2 separate regions of the Homo sapiens genome follow, and region 1 is linked to region 2. The links are contacts of gene promoters, found by promoter capture Hi-C in blood cells and fetal thymus (Javierre and others, 2016). All regions are on one chromosome and are shown on one strand. The core of a region is centred on a gene start or on the middle of the fragment in contact, and the rest is flanking DNA. Distances in the headings are between cores, read along the strand shown.

Region 1 (3,661 bases), core at 794-3,293, 130 kb before region 2:
TTCAGGCTGGGTGACCTCTGCCTGAAGCCCTTCAGTGGCATCCCAGTGCTCTCAGGTTAAGACAAGGCTCCCCAGTGTGGCCTGCTTGGCCCTGCATGGTTTGGCAACTGCCAGACTCCAGCCTCATCATGCTCTGCTCTGTCTTTGACTGTCTGCCTGCTAATTCCATGGACCCTGTCTTAGATCCTCAGGACCCACCATGCTCCCCCAGCCTGGCCACTGGGACCTTCTCTGTACTAGAACACTCCTTCACCTCCCTCTCACTTACTCAGCTTCGATTCATCCTTCACAACTCACCATAGGCTTCAATTCCTTAGGGAGGACTTCCCTGGCCTCCCTGGCTAGGACGTATCTGTGTCATATTCTCTAATTATCCTTTGTAGTTCTTGTCATGGTTGCAATTTTACAGTGATTTGTAATAATTTCAGTTACTGTCAGCCTTTCCCATGACATTGTAAATTCCATGAGGGCAGGGACTAGCCTTGAGATTCTCTCTGGCTGAGGCCCATATCTAAAAAGCCAGGCCAGTGCTGACGGTGTCCTTGCCCCGTCTGAGGAAGGGCCACCTGGCCAGGCCTTGGGAATGGGACTCAGGGCCGGGCCTGGCATCCTCTGTAGGTGGGAGCAGTTTGACAAGAAATACCTGAGTCAGCTGCTGATGCGACGATCAGCCTACCGCATCCGGGACCAGATCTGGGATGTGTACTACAGGCTTAACATCCGGGATGCCATCAGCTTTGTGGACCAGGTGGGCCAGCAGCTTCCAGGTGGGCCAGTGGTGGGTGGGCAGATGGTCAGCAGAGCAGGACAGAAAGGGGTGGCAAGCAGGCTGGCCCTGAGCAGGGAGTTGGGAATTCCTAGCTGGCTCCATGGTCTGGTGAAGTGGCAGCGGCAGGAAGCAGCTGGGTCTGGTGCTGACATTCAGAGTCTGGCAGGCAGTCCAGAGAGGTGGGAAACAGCTGGACTCTGGGGTCAGCTCAACCATTATCACTTCCAAGCTTGTGACCTTGGGTAAGCACACTCTCTGAGCCTGTTTCCTTAGCTGTAAGAAAGCAGGCATAAGAGGCTGGGCACGGTGGCTCACGCCTGTAATCCCAGCACTGTGGGAGCCTGAGGTGGGTAGATCACTTGAGGTGAGGAGTTTGAGACCAGCCTGGCCAACATGGTGAAACCCTGTCTCTACTAAAAATACAAAAACTAGCCAGGCATGGTGGTGCATGCCTGTAATCCCAACTACTCTGGAGGCTGAGGCAGGAGAATCGCTAAAATCTGGGAAGCGGGCTGGGCACGGTGGCTCACACCTGTAATCCCAGCACTTTGGGGGGCCAAGGCGGGTGGATCATGAGGTCAGGAGTTCGAAACCGGCCTGGCCAACATAGTGAAACCCCGTCTCTACTAAAAATACAAAAACTAGCCAGGCGTGGTGGTGGGCACCTGTAGACCCAGCTACTTGGGAGGCTGCGGCAGGAGAATCGCTTGAACCCTGGTGGAGTTTGCAGTGAGGTTGCAGTGAGCTGAGATTGTACCATTGCACTCCAGCCTATGTGACAGAGCAAGACTGTGTCTCAAAAAAAAAAAAAAAAAAATCCGGGAACCAGAGGTTGCAATGAGCCGAGATCGTGTCACTGCACTCCAGCTTGGGTGATAGAGTGACTCTGTCTCAAAAAAAAAAAAAAAAAAAAAAAATAGAAAGCAGGCATACAAGTACCTATGTTATAGATTTTGTGAATTCGATATGTAAAGTGCCTAGCAGAGTACCTGGCATGTCAAAAGAGTAAACTAAGTGTTCGTTATTATTATTTTCTTTATTACCCCTGACTCCTGGGCAACCCTCCATCTGATTGCTGGCTGACCTTGGTCTTGACACCTGCAGGGAGGCCACGTCTTGTCTTCCACAGGTCTCACTCTGCCTTCTATGCCCAGCCGCAATTCTGTGGCAGAAACTTCTGTCACCAACCTGCTGTGAGTCCTTGAGCCCCTTCCCCTTCCTCATACTCCTCTCCATTGTGCCCTCTCTCTGAGTCCCTTCTGGGGGAGATTTGTCAGCACCTTTTCATCTGCCCTTCTCCTGGACTGCCTCCTGCCCCCTCTCCAGCACATGTGTCCCCTGCCTCCTGCAGGAGGGAGAGTGGCAGTGGAGCGTGTCTGGATCTGCAGGTGATTGACACAGTACGCAGCGGCCGGGATCGTGAGGATGCTGTGATGCATCATCTGCTCTGCGGAGGCCTCTACAAGCCGCGCCGTAGGGTGAGAGCAGGCAGGCATCAGGATTTTGAGGGGGTGGAGGTGGTCTGAGGAGAGCTTAAGAGGCAGTTGGCGCCAGCTTGTTGGAGAGCTGCAGATGCCCAGCTAAAGAGTGTGGGTTTCAGCCGGGTGCGATGGCTCATGCCTGTAATCTCAGCACTTTGGGAGGCCAAGACAGGCGGATCACTTGAGGTCAGGAGTTTGAGACCAGCCTGGCCAACATGGTAAAAATGAAACCCCATCTCTACTAAAAATACAAAAATTAGCTGGGTGCGGTGGCACATGCCTGTAATCCCAGCTACTCGGGAGGCTGAAGCAGGAAAATCGCTTGAACCCGGGAGGCAGAGGTTGCAATGAGCTGAGGTCTCACCACTGCACTCCAGCCTGGGTAACAGAGCAAGACTCCATCTCAAAAAAAAAAAAAAAAAAAAAAAGAGTGTGGGTTTTATCTCATCAGTAATAAGAAACCTCTGCTTTGTTTTTATTTTTTGGAGAAAGGGTTGACCTAATACAAGCACTGTTTAAGGATACCTTCTCTGGTAGCAGAGTGCAGATCAAATTGGAGGGGGTGAGTTGAGAAGCTGGGACAGCCAGTTGGGAAGATGGAGTGAAATATTGTGGATTAGGGCTGAGCGGTGGGAAAGAAGAGGGGCACGTAGGCCTAGGTGATTGGCTCTGATGGTGAGAGGAGGAGGAGACAGAGTACTGGGGGCCTTGAGGGTCACTGGAGAATGATGGAGTCACAGACAGAAGCAAGAGCACTGAGGAAGCCTCCTAGACCAGCTTAGCCTGTGGAAGGTGGGCATCTGTTTTAAATAATGGAAGTTAGTCCAATGCAGATCATGAAGCTTTGCGTCTGGAAAGGCCCAGCTCATCCAGGAGAGAGTCTGTTGCAACCCCACAAGAGGGCAGCAAGCCATTACCTTGCACCTTTCTAAAATGGGAAGCCAGCTGTCACCAGTTCTGGCAGTTTCAACAGTCAAAGCTCTTTCTACTGTTGAAACAGAATTGGCCTCCTTTAACTTGCACCCACTGGTCCTGATTTGACTCTTCGCAGCTCTGCAGAATACATCTTCCAAAATTTCAAGACAGTTCCCTTTCACACAGGCTCTCTTGCCCTCAGGCCAGAATCTCTTACCTCCTGGTATGTCTTCTCTGGACTTAAAAAAACAGCGCCCAGAATGGAAGTTGCTACTCTAGCTGTGGCTGGCCAGGGAAGGGCCTAGAAGCTCTGACACCATTCTAGTTCTAGAACTTGCTATTTCTCTTCCCACAGCCCAAGATCCCTCCAGCCTTGGCTCACCACCCTGGGGCCCCACATTGTCCTTAGAATCTGCTAAACTCCCAGGTCTTCCTCAGTTAATGGCTGGCAGACCCTGTCTCACTGCATCCTATGGGGTTTTTAAAAAACCTTTCT
Region 2 (3,612 bases), core at 1,064-3,563:
CCAGCCTCTACCTCAAACCTGCAAGACCTGGGCAGGTTCTGCTACAGAGTTGGTGCTGGAGCTGCCTGGGGAGAGGGGCCCGTCACTGTCGCCCTGGGCCACAGAGCCCCAAGGAAGAGCCCCGGGAGGCACGGTCTTGTCACTAATGCCAGCCCTGGCTCTCAGCAGGGTTCAGCAGATGAAATAATGATGCCCACAGGGAACAGAGTGGCACTGTCCAGAAAGACTGTTAGGGCAGCAGCTGGGGCCCTGGCTTTGTCTGGCCCTGGCACAAGGCCTTGCTTGGGTGGAAGTGAGGGTGGCAGAGCAGGCCCCCTCCCTGGAAGCTCCATGCCAAGCTGGCTTGGGGCCAGGCCAGGCTGCTGGTCGGGCAGGCATTCAGTGAGGACAGCATCTCTGTAAGGGTCATGAGGACCCAGCAAGAGCCAGTCTGGGCACGGGTGCATGCCCTGGGCAGGGGTGCAGCTGGTCCAGCAAGGCCTTGTTACTATTTGCTGTTAAACAAAAACATGAGGGGAGCTTGGGGCTGGCCTGGCCACAGTTTGTGAAGCCTGGAGACGGTTGCTAAGGGAGGGTGGTGCTGCTTGGAGAATGTTGCTAAGGGCAGGATGGTGTCAGGGCAGCTCAGGGAGAAGCTCCCAGTGCTGAGGGGCTGGGCTGGGCTGGGAAGCTGGGGCCCACGGGTGGGGCACGCCAGCACTCCCTGCGCCTAGGGCATAACCGTGGCTTCCTGGCCCCTTGCCACCGACTGGTGCTGTAACCTCCCACTGTGGAGTTTTGGGGGAGCAGGAGGTTGGGGGCTAGTAGCGTGGGGGCTGTAGAGTTACGAACCCCAAGAGTCGTGCTGGCAAGTGGGGCTGTGGCTGAAACACACTTCATCATGTCTACACCTCAGACCTCCCCTGGCCACGCCCTGAACTTGGCCACACCAGCCCACATTCCCAGCGACCCTGTGCACTCAGCCCTGGCCTGCCACCCCCTGGGCCTTGTACCCCTGGCCATACCTTCAGCCCTCCATCCTCCATCTTCACACCCACAGCCACAGCCCTCGGCCACCAGCCCCCACATATATACTAACAAGCCTGCGCCAACCCCAGTAATACCCACAGTCCAGCACTAAAGTGCCCCCCACACCCACAGCCCTCCGCTGCAGACCCCTGGCCACACCCTGAGCCTACACAGCAGCCTTCTCCATCCCCACACCCGCAGCCCTGGGGCTGAGGCCCCTGGCCACAAACCTGCATCCCTTCCTGAGACCCCTGACCATAGCCTCAGCCACTCACCCCCTCCAATACCCGCAGCCCTTTATCAAGGCGCCCTGACCCTCAGCACCCCTTTGTCCACACACCCTCAGCCCTCTGGCCACACCCTCAGCCTGCACTGAAGGCCCCAGTCCACATCCACACACTAACATTATAAGACTCCCAGGTACTATGCGGAGATCCCCTGCGTAGAGACCTCCCCACCACATCCCCCTCCTCCACTGCCACCTCCTGACCACACCCTCGGTCTCAGCAACCATCTTCTAGCTCTGCCTTTTACACTAGGGCTTCCAGTGACCACGGCCTGGGCTCTGCCCGGCTGCCCCATCTTCCACCAAAAACTCCTCGCCAGTGACCACACTCCCATCCCTAAGTGGCAGTTTCTGGGACTGTGAGCACCGGTGGTTCCTACGTTACAGGGACCATAACCCCAGTCCACGCTGCACTCCCCTTCCCTTTCCCTGGGTGCAACCTCCCACCAGGGACCCCAAGACCCGCACTTGGTTCACCAAGGGTAACGTCCAGGGGAGCTTGGATGCCACAGGGTGCTTGGCCCAAGCACTGGGCGGATCCTGCGTGCAGTGCTCACTCCTGTCCGTGGAAAGATGGATTCTTGGTCATCTCAGCGCGGTCAGGTGGCGCTGGGTTGCAGGCCGCAGCCCCATGGGTCTGCAGGCCATGGATGGAGTGGCCACACCCGTGAACTGGAGCCACCCGTCCCGCTCCCACTGGGACAGCTGGAGTCATCAATCAGCCGGACCAGGAGGTGGGGGCTGCGAGGTGGAATGCTTGGGGCCAGGGCAGGGCCGCTCAGCTGGCTCCTCGGCTGGGACCGCCGGAGGTTGGGACCCTTTCCAGGCTGCTCCCCCCAACCCTCATCGTGCAGGATACTGATTGGGGTGGCGGGCATCTGGGTCTCCTATGGGCTTCTACCTCGCGGCTGCTCCTGAAGTGTGCGTTCGGAAGGACAGAACGACGCAGGAATGGACCGATGGACGCGGGAGACCAGGCGGCTCCGCAGCTCCGCTCCCTGCCGGCTCCCGGGTGGGACTGCAGCCCAGGCGGCTCCGCCGTATTATCCCCTGTTTCTCGGTCTCCATAGAGACGGCGAGTCCCACCCCCGAGGCTGTCTCGGCGGGAGAGTGACCAAGGTCACGCCGGCCCCGCCCACGAGGCCCCGCCCTCCCCGAGACTCTCCGGGAGCCGCATCCCGCCCCTCCCCCGCAACTCCGCGGTCCTCGCGACGGCGAGACCAGCGCTCTGCAGTTCGGGGCGTCTTCGGACGGCCCCCTGAGGAAACAGCCTCCCATCCTGGGATGTGCCTAAAGCTCTAAGCGGCCCCAATCTCCAGAAGAGATCCAGCTCCCCAGAGAGTCAACCAGAGGCCACTGGGGAGCTGCGCGGGGCATTGGTGGGGCTTGGGGAATCGGGAAGGAGCTCTCCCTCAGTGACAGGGGTATACGGTTGACTCAAGAGCACTGCCATCCACTGAACGGATGGCACCCCCAGGCCACAACTCCCGTGCTCTCTTGGGTAGGATTCAGAGCCTGGAGCAGTGGGGAAGAAGGGAGGGGACTCCCTACGAGCGAATCGCGCTCGCCCAGCCCCAGGATGCTGGCATTCGACGGCAGCCCTGCTGCCGGGGAAAAGCTGCGGGACCTCCTGGCTCGGCCCCCTCCTTTCGCCGCCACCTCCCCACGGCCTCGCAGCCTCAGCGCCCACTGCTGCTTTCGGAGCCCAAAGCCTGCTTTCTCTCGGCCTCCCAGTGCAAAGCCCATCTTTAAGAAAAATAACCTCCTCCAGGCCGCCTTCTAAGGCCTTTCCTAACCACGAGCCGCACGTGAGCACCTCCACAGGGCAGCCTGGGTGGCTACCTACTATACAGGGACCTCCTCCCCGCCCCCGGTCCACTGGCCAGGGTCGGGCTTCTGGATGGCCCGTGGCCCCTGCCATTAAGAAAGTAAGCGCGACGTCCGCAAAAGCATAAAAAAGTTTATTGGAGCATCACAGCCGGTGGGGCGGGTATTGCTGAGTCGTGGGGGAGGGAGGCCGATCCCGCCGGCCGTAGGGGCCCCTAAAGTGCACTCGGTGCGGCAAGGATGGGGTGTTGCATAGAGAGTCAGGCCGGCCGCTCTAACTCGGCCCTCCGGCCTCTCGGCCCAGCTAAGCCAGACCAGCCTCCCGGCCGCCCGGCGCCCTGGGCTCGCCGCTGCTCGGGCTCACGAAAACGGCGGGCGCACGCGCCTGCCGCGCCAGCGTGGGCTGTCGGCCCCGGCCCCGCGGGGCGGCCAGAGCGGCGCTGCCCAGGCGCGTCTGCGCCACTGGAATCTCGTCCACGGACTCTGCCGAC

What was found. The method cuts DNA at HindIII sites, captures the fragments that hold promoters and counts their contacts. A CHiCAGO score of 5 or more calls a contact.
Region 1: a contact is called between a fragment that was not itself captured here and the fragment with the promoter of TPPP3 in region 2, in 5 of 17 cell types (M2 macrophages, endothelial precursors, megakaryocytes and 2 more). The highest score is 7.0, in M2 macrophages.

The regions. Positions count from the first base shown.
Region 1 is chr16:67,257,700-67,261,360 of GRCh38, forward strand. It overlaps SLC9A5 (solute carrier family 9 member A5), which reads left to right. Exons shown (of 16, transcript NM_004594.3): 10 at 619-748; 11 at 1,874-1,962; 12 at 2,121-2,247. Among named protein-coding and RNA genes, the nearest start is that of SLC9A5, 11 kb to the left of the region's middle. The HindIII fragment of the contact is 2,094 bases long and covers 997-3,090 here.
Region 2 is chr16:67,391,185-67,394,796 of GRCh38, forward strand. It overlaps TPPP3 (tubulin polymerization promoting protein family member 3), which reads right to left and starts at 2,314. Exons shown (of 4, transcript NM_015964.4): 1 at 2,196-2,314. It overlaps ZDHHC1 (zDHHC palmitoyltransferase 1), which reads right to left. Exons shown (of 12, transcript NM_001323627.2): 12 at 2,968-3,612. The coding sequence ends at 3,426. The HindIII fragment of the contact is 5,780 bases long and covers 1-3,612 here.